3 separate regions of the Homo sapiens genome follow, and regions 1 and 3 are each linked to region 2. Evidence: promoter capture Hi-C in 16 types of primary human blood cells and fetal thymus (Javierre and others, 2016). All regions are on one chromosome and are shown on one strand. Each heading gives the region's core, a stretch centred on a gene start or on the middle of the fragment in contact. The rest is flanking DNA. Distances are from core to core; before and after follow the strand shown. Region 1 holds the start of ZNF446 (zinc finger protein 446). Region 2 holds the start of ZNF586 (zinc finger protein 586). Region 3 holds the start of MZF1 (myeloid zinc finger 1).

Region 1 (2,700 bases), core at 198-2,697, 710 kb before region 2:
CTCCTTCACACTGCAGCTGAGCTGGACAGACCCCTCTATTCTGGTGTCCTGGGGACCTTCCCCAGGGGACTCCACTGTCCCTGAGGGGTGGGGGCTCCCAAGTGGTTCCTCTGTCTTCTGGGCTGCAGGGAGCACCTCCTGCTTCAGGACATGGGCTGTGATCTGAGGAGAAGAGGTAGGTCACAATGGCTCTAGCCAGGGTCTATCCCTCCAAGAAGCTGATGCCAGCCACACTCACCCAGCCCAACAGTTGCCCAGGGTCATGCTGCAGTCCTTCGACTAGGGCAGCGGCCTCCTCAGGACTGCCTGGCCGCTGACCGCGCACCCAGGCCTGGATCTCGGGAGGCAGTGTGCCCAGGAACTGCTCCAGCACCAGCATCTCCAGCATCTGCTCCTTGGAGTGTGCCTCAGGCTGCAGCCACTGGCAACACAGCTCACGCAGCCGGGCCAGGGCTTCTCGGGGACCTGCCACCTCCTGGTAGCAGAACCCTCGGAAGCGGAGGCGGGCAGTCTCAGGCTCCTCAAGGGTGGTCTCTGGGTCCATGACGGGCAGGCATGGGGGACCCAGAGGGGATGGCATTCTTGCTCAAGGGGGTGGTCTTGGAATCGTCAAGATGGGCCTACAGAAAAGGAAGGGTCGGAATGTCAGCCAAGAGAATCTGGCCAGGGGAAGGCAGACACCAGGCTCAGCCCAGGGGGCTGAGACCAGGACCAAGTGTACTCTGAGGCCAGAAGAGATAAGGCCAAGAAAGCTTCATGGAAGGAGGAGGGTCACAGGACCCAAACAATGATGGCAAATGAGAGCAGGAGGAAGCCTCAGGGACAAATGCTTGGACGCAAGGTGTCCAGGGAGCTTCCTGGAAATTGCAAACAGTTGGGTCCAGCAGGGGACTGCTGGGAGATGACGCTAAAGAGGTGGAGAAAGACAGTCATCACAGAGTTCCAGCGCCAGGCTGAGGAGCCACAGTGTCTAGCCGAGGTGCGAGGAGAGTGGACCAGGGTGGGCGGGTAGAAGGTGGGGCCAGGCTGTAATGTACGGGGACGAGTCGCCCTCCACAATCTCGGGGAGGTTGACTGGGTGGGACCTCCTTTAGGAATGGCTCTGGGGAGGGGGCACGTGGACATCGTGCTCGCTGACCACAGCGAGCCGTGGGCGACTCACACTGCCGGGGCCCGTGCATGTGAAAACGAAAAGCAAAGGCCAAGAAAAACGGGGCCAAAGCTCCACGTTGCGCGGAGTCGAGGGATGGCCACAGCATCCCGGCCCTGAAGGTCTGCAGTGAAAGACGCCCACCTGGACGGGCCTGAGAGACCAGGCCTGACACCCGGCCTATCCGAGGGATGCTCGAACTTCGGGATCTGTCCCCAAAAGGGGAAGGCAAGAGGGAGGCGTTCCAAGAGGACTTGCCAGGCCCGGCCCCCCGGAACGGCGTTGAGGGTAGGAAAGGCCTGAGCGAAGGCTGAGGTGACGCGCGCGGCCTGTCGGGAAGTGGGCGGGCCCTCCAGGGCGCCGACAGCAGGAGCCGTTCAGGCCCCAGAGGGCGACCCCAAGCCCTCCCACGGGGTGGAAAGGCTGCGCCCACTCTGGCAGCCTGCGCTCACCTCAACCCGGAGCGGTTGCTTGGAGGCCGCTTCCCGGATGTGGCGCCGCACAACGCGGGGCGCCTCAGCCGGGTGTTGCCCCGGCGACGCCGCGCTGACCAATCTCTCGCCTGCACCGAAGGCACCGCCCATGCCCTTTGAACTACATTTCCCATGAGCATCAGCAAGACAGGCGCGACCGTGACCCGCTGACCCGCATTTGCAGCAGCCTCTGACGCCTGAGAGGCGCTCTGTTCCTCTAGGAGGTACGGCAGAGTCCCAGGGTTATATGGTCTCCCTCCGCTCTGAGAGCAGCTCTTCCCGGGTTATAAACTTGCGCGTCTGTACAGTGGGCCGGTTTCTATTGGCAGGTGAGGGGAGGGGGTTTTGCCCAATCAGAGGTGGCGCTTGCTTGGCCCCGCCGCCCCCACGCCATTCCCCGGGCCAGCCCCTAGATAACGCTAGGGCATATCCGCCCGCCTCCAGCTGTTCCCGTGGCAACGTTCAGGAGCGTTGCCTCGACTTCCGAAGAGGCTGGAAGTGGCGGCCCAGTGGTTTCCTAGGTCGAGTAGTTCGCTGGGACTCGCTTCCAAGTGGACCCGGGAGAGGCGGTGGTGTAGAAGACCACCCTGAGCCTGGGCTTTCTCCCGCCAGGAGGGTGCGAGGGCCATCTTTGACCTCTGTTAAGCGCCCTAAGGAGGTACCGACGGTTGTGACCGCAGTCTCTGACGTCTTCAGATGTCAGTCCTACAAAGTCGGGGGTGGAGGTTTCCCTCCAGGCTGATCGGACATGCTCAACCGTTTATTTACCTTTGAATTTGGGGAGCAGAACTAGCCAGGGTGACACTAGTTTCTCCCAATAAGCAGTGTTACAGTTTTCTAAATCTGTGGGGTCAGTTTTGCTTCCACACTTAAAAGTGGCCGAGCCATTACTTAGTCAGTCCTAAATTACACCGCCTGTTTTGGTTTCTTTGGATACCTGGGAATCCCTGCTGCCTGCTCTGGATGAAGAGCAGTGGTCTTGATCACCGATTGGAAGCACCGAGCATGTGCGTGGATGAGACTTGTCAACTCGGAGCTTTCCAACGGCCTCCTCAGGTTGTTTTTGGGGATGAGGTG
Region 2 (2,700 bases), core at 31-2,530:
CTCCTGAGCCCGGAGAGGTCGAGGCCGTGCTGCGCCGTGATCGCGTCACCGCAACCCAGCCTGGGTGTTGAGTGAGAACCCGTCGCCGAAAAAAAAAAAAGATGCCAAGATCTAGACATGTGGGATAGGATGAGGACCAGTGAAGGACTAGAGCATCCCCTACTTCCTACTGTGGATTCTGTAAGTGCTTCTGTAGCCATGAGGTGTGCCAAAAGGCAGGGCTTTCACAAATGTGTCTGTGCTCGGATTTGATAGACTCAGGCTTCTCTGTAAGCTTTTTTTGGCCCTGCAGCCAGATGACTTCAGACTGAGTCTCTAATCTTGTGGCCCAGTGCTCAATGTCACCTCTCAATGATTCAACCTCTCAATGTCCTCATCACTGCCTTCAACTCTGTTCTTCCTTCGAACATCTTTTGGGAATCGCAACTCTAACACAGATTTCCTCCTTTGTTCAAAACTGTCCATGGCTTTTAGCGTCCTCACAGTCAAAGTTCAACCCTCAGCCTGGTACTGAAGAAACAACTCCGCCTCGGCCAGGCGCGGTGGCTCACGCCTGTATTCCCAGCACTTTGGGAGGCCGAGGTGGGCGGATCACCTAAGGTCAGGAGTTCGAGGCCAGCCTAGCCAACATGGTGAAACCCCGTGGTGGCGCATGCCTGTAATCCCAGCTACTCGGGAGGCTGAGGCAGGAGAATCGCTTGAACCGGGGAGGTGGAGCTTGCAGTGAGCCGAGATCGCGCCACTGCACTCCAGCCTGGGCGACAGAGTGAGACTCCGTCTCAAAAAAAAAAAAAAAAAGAAATAACTCCGTATCACACTTCTTTCCCAGTAGACACACGATGTCCCCGTGTTCCGCATCCTCCTGCCTCAGTCGCGCCTGCAGGCCTTTGCCCTCCGCCAGTCTCGCTCTGCCGACCGCATCAACTGGGTGTCGGAAACAGGGATCCCACCCGCCGGCGCCTCTCCGTCCCTGACAGAGGCCTGGGCTGCAGGGACGCGAGGAGGCGGCCCTCACGATCAGGGGCCTCAGGGTCTGGGTGGGTAGGGTGGGTAAGGCCCGGAGGTCGCAGCGCTCACCTGAGCAGGCGCCCTCAGAGCGGCTGCTGCCGCCATGACTCTGGGCGGGGGGGGAACGCGGGCTCGGCGGTGTTCCTGTCGTTGTCCTGTCCCGGGTCGCGACCAGCGGCGTCGCCGAACCTCAGATCCGCCTGTGTGCAATGGCCACAACCACTCCTCCCGAGCTCGTCCAGACCCAGCATCGCCGGATGGACCTGACAGGCCAAAATGGCTGCCACGGCTAGGACGCCGGAAGTCCTGGCTTGACTTTACGTGCCCCGGCAATGGCACGGCTTCTCTGAAGCTTCATTGGCTCAGCCACGTTACCATTTCGCAGGGCGGATTCTGGGTAATGTAGTTCCCAGACATGGGCAGCGCTTAAGGTGGCTTTCTTCCGACTTTCCGAAGAAAGGGGCAAGCTCCACTGCGAGGGGCGCTAGGAAATGGCGACTCCAGGTCCAGATGCGGAGGAGGGTCTCCCATCTTAGAAGAGGCCATACGCACATTTCTGGGGGTACTGTGTGCAACTGATTGCCCGCGTGTTTGGAGACTTCTTATTTCAGAATTTGTGATGCTCGGCTTCTTCCTTTTTTTTTTTTTTTTGTCTTTTTTTTAAGACATAGTTCTCTCTGTCACTCAGGCTGGGGTGCAGTGGTGTGATCTTGGCTCACTGCAGCCTATGCCTCCCGGGTTCAAGCGATTCTCGTGCCTCAACCATCCGAGTAGCTGGGATTACAGGCGTGTGCCACCATACCCTGCTAATTTTTGTATTTTTAGTAGAGACGGGGTTTCCTCATTTTGGCCAGGCTGGTCTCGAACTTCTGGCCTCAAGTGATCTGCCTGCAATGGTCTACCGAAGTGCTAGGATTACAGGCGTGAACCACCGTTCTCAGCCCATTAGCAACACTTTTATTTATATCTTTAACCTACAGATTCCTCTAGAAATCTGATATCAACATCAAAAAGCTAATGAGACAAATGCTATTATGTTACAGGACAATGGCTGCGGTGTTCAAACATGGAGTATGTATGCATGAGAGAAGAGAGAGACCCTCTCACATTGTTTTATATTCAGTAAAAACAACAAGGAAGTAAAACCAAAGACAGGCAACCCCGCGCCAGGCCCGAAACCAGGCCTAGGCCCGCCTGGCCTAAACCCAGTAGTTAAAAATCAACTTATGATTTAGAAGCCGATGTTATTCATAGATTCCTTAGATTGTATAGAAGAACATTGTGAAACTCCCTGCCCTGTTCTGTTCCTCCCTGACCACCGGTGCATGCAGCCCCTGTCACATACCCCTTGCTTGCTCAAATCAATCACGACCCTTTCATGTGAAATCTTTAGTGTTGTGAGCCCTTAAAAGGGACAGAAATTGTGCACTCCGGGAGCTCAGATTTTGAGACAGTAGCTGGCCAATGCTCCCAGCTGAATAAAGCCCTTCCTTCTGCAACTCGGTGTCTGAGAGGTTTTGTCTGCGGCTCGTCCTGCTACATGCACAGGGTGCTTTTACACTGAGATATTTCAAGTGCCTTAAATCCATGCGTTCACCTCTTTGCTGGCAAGTGCTTATCATTGTCAGTGGCATTGGAATCAGAGTGACTCCATCTTGAAAATGGGCTGGATAAAGTAAGGCTGAGAAATAC
Region 3 (2,700 bases), core at 197-2,696, 800 kb before region 2:
ATTTATTTACCGTACTGAGGGAAGCAGCAAGATGATTCTAGGAAGACAGGAAAGGAAGAATAAACACTGGCCGGCCGCGGTGGCTCACACCTGTAATTCCAGCAATTTGGGAGGCCGAGGTGGGCGGATCACCAGAGGTCTGGAGGTCAAGACCAGTCTGGCCAACATGGTAAAACCCCATCTCTACTAAAAATACAAAAATCAGCCGGGTGTGGTGGAGCAGCCTGCAGTCCCAGCTACTCGGGAGGCTGAGGCAGGAGAATCGCTTGAACCTGGGAGACGGAGGTTGCAGTGAGCCGAGATCGTGCCACTGCACTCCAGTCTGGCAACAGCGAGACTCCGTCAAAAAAAAAAAAAAAAAAAAGAAAGAAAGAAAAAGAAAAACACTGAAATAAAAGCACAAAGTTGGATACAAAACTGCTTAGTGAGCTACAAAGCGATACACTGGACAGAAAGCATTTGCAACCTATCAACCTGTACAGGGTAGCATATAACTGGACAGCATCTGGACTCCTAAGTTTTCCTAACAGTTTTACCTCGGATTCTCCCTGTCTCTCTTCGTGCTGTCATCTTTCTCTAGGTCTTCGAAAACTGTCAATCCATCTTACTGTATCTCTAATTTCTGTCCCTTTTCTCCCTTCTTGTTTCTGTCCCTCTCCCTTCTTGTCTACCTCTTGAGTCTGGATATCTGCATTTCTTGTCTCTGTGAACCCATTCTGCGTTTCCTTCTTTGTGTCTCTTTCATCTGCATCCCTTTCTGATCTGCCTCTCTCTTGCTAACTGTTCTGACACCTGTTTGCCCGGCCCTGACCCTCTGATCCACTCAGCCCTCTTATAACTTGGACCCGTGTCTCTATGTTTGTTCACTTATTTTCACTGTCTCTCCTCGCGTCGAGTCTCCGGTCCTCCCAGTCTGTGAGTCTGTCTCTCTGTCTCTCTCTCTCTTCCTCCCGCCGGTCCTTCGTCTCTCTTTGCCCTTGAGTCTCTGGTCTCTCTCCGTCTCTCCTCGCTGTTTCTATCGATCGGCATCTCTCTGCCCCAGTACCCTTCCCCACCTCTTCATCCCACATGCCCCATTGCATTTTCAACGCCCGCCGCGTCTCCGGGTTACCCAGGCGATGTCGAGTCGTGTCCCCAGGTTACCATGGAGACGTTCAGGGCCCGCCCCTCGCCCATGATCACAGAGGAACGTCATCGCGCCGCGCGCGCACGTACACACGAAGGGCCTGCTGACTACATCTGCCGGAAAGCATCGGGCCAAGCCTTTCTCCATTTTGCGGTCTAGGAAGTAGCAGAGGCCCCTTCCTGTAGGGAGTTGCCATGGAGACGCGGTGGGGCACCGACGGAGTTCTAATGACGGCCGTGATTGGTGCAGGATCCTGCTAATCTCAGGAAGGCCCGTAGAGAAGTGAGGAAAACGTGGTGGGGGGCATGCGCGATCTGGTAGGCGGTGCTGCCGTCTGTTGTACCTGAGAGGCTTGCGCATGCCGACGCACGGATTCGAGGCGGGGAGCATGGGAAGAAGCGGCCAGGAGTATGACCTGATCATTGCGACCACCGCTAGGGGAAGGGAGGAGAGGGTGTAGAAACGGGGACGAGGGTGGGGGAAGGGCAAGGAGGCGCTCGAGCTGGTGCGCGGAGCATCCTGGGAGACGTAGTCCAGCGGGAGGGGGAAGTCGAAGACTGCGCGTGCTCAGGAGCGCGGAGCGGCCCGCTGAGCGCAGAGGTGAGGGCGGGGTCCTCTTAACCGGGAGGGCTATCGTGTGGACGGGGGCGGTGGCTGCAGACTCGGGGATTCCGGCTCCCCAGTGAGACCGGAAGCGCGGGGAACGAATCCGGGCAGTCCTTGCGGGAGCGCCCAGGGCTAGAGCGAGAGGCTTGTCAATCACTACTCGTTGCCACGACGACAGGCTTTGGGAGCCCCGCCCCCGGTTGCCTAGGCGTCGTCTGGACCTACCTTGGCACCCTGGAGCGGAAGTTGCCGCCTGGACTTCTGGGAAGTGTATTTCGGGACCCTCCGTAGGTACCTGCCATCTTGGCTATGACCCAAGTCTCTCCCAGGGTTTCAGGTTGACTTGGCACCTTGAAGAGTGGAGGCTTGGCCCCCAGGATGAGGCGGCCCTCGAAATCGATGCCACCCACGGGGGAATGATTCTGCGGTGCCATCCCCTTCATAAACGCAGATTCCTTCCTAAAGCCGCAGCTGCAGAAGGAACAGCGCGAGGAGGGAGGTCAGCCCCACTTGCAAATGGGGAAACAAGTTCTCGAAGGCACAGTGATCTGAAGATGGGCGGAATCAGAGTCTCGGGACTTCCTTGCAGGCTCCTGTTCCGGCAGTCTTGGAGCCTTTGCCGCCCCCCCACCCATTGCGAAGCTCCCCCATCCCCTTCCAACCCCAGCTAAATCAGGAAGCTGAGATGGGGCATTGCGTAGTGTGATGTTGGGCTTAGAAGATGGGGCTGAGTAGGGAGAGAGGGTGCTGCCTGGGAGCTGAGCCATACAAGTGACTGCACAGGTTGACATGGAGGATTAGGTGGAGTGAGGCTTCCAAGCAGGGAGGGGAATGATGGTGGGGCCCAAATGAGGAGCCACATCGAAGTAGATGAGAGAATAGAAGGTGAAGTAAGGGCTGGCGTTGGGTAGGGGGAGACGCCAGCAGTGATGCTGATGCCCAGGCTGTAGGTGTATAGGTGCCATCCA

Evidence for each region. The method cuts DNA at HindIII sites, captures the fragments that hold promoters and counts their contacts. A CHiCAGO score of 5 or more calls a contact.
Region 1: a contact is called between the fragment with the promoter of ZNF446 here and the fragment with the promoter of ZNF586 in region 2, in 1 of 17 cell types (neutrophils). The highest score is 5.1, in neutrophils.
Region 3: a contact is called between the fragment with the promoter of MZF1 here and the fragment with the promoter of ZNF586 in region 2, in 2 of 17 cell types (naive B cells and total B cells). The highest score is 5.7, in naive B cells.

The regions. Positions count from the first base shown.
Region 1 is chr19:58,475,099-58,477,798 of GRCh38, reverse strand. It overlaps ZNF446 (zinc finger protein 446), which reads right to left and starts at 1,447. Exons shown (of 7, transcript NM_017908.4): 1 at 1,295-1,447; 2 at 239-620; 3 at 1-162. The coding sequence starts at 580. It overlaps ZNF324 (zinc finger protein 324), which reads right to left. Exons shown (of 4, transcript NM_014347.3): 4 at 2,363-2,700. RefSeq lists enhancers at 1,189-1,388, 1,543-1,837, 1,659-1,908, 2,149-2,208, 2,269-2,358. The HindIII fragment of the contact is 6,419 bases long and covers 755-2,700 here.
Region 2 is chr19:57,768,256-57,770,955 of GRCh38, reverse strand. It overlaps ZNF586 (zinc finger protein 586), which reads right to left and starts at 1,280. Exons shown (of 3, transcript NM_017652.4): 1 at 1,078-1,280. The coding sequence starts at 1,113. RefSeq lists enhancers at 1,046-1,295, 1,017-1,556. The HindIII fragment of the contact is 1,086 bases long and covers 277-1,362 here.
Region 3 is chr19:58,572,081-58,574,780 of GRCh38, reverse strand. MZF1 (myeloid zinc finger 1) reads left to right here and starts at 1,446. Exons shown (of 6, transcript NM_198055.2): 1 at 1,446-1,726. It overlaps MZF1-AS1 (MZF1 antisense RNA 1), which reads right to left. Exons shown (of 6, transcript NR_027334.2): 5 at 1,958-2,203; 6 at 1-1,864. RefSeq lists enhancers at 1,072-1,501, 1,562-1,651, 1,020-1,879, 1,880-2,700. The HindIII fragment of the contact is 12,442 bases long and covers 1-2,700 here.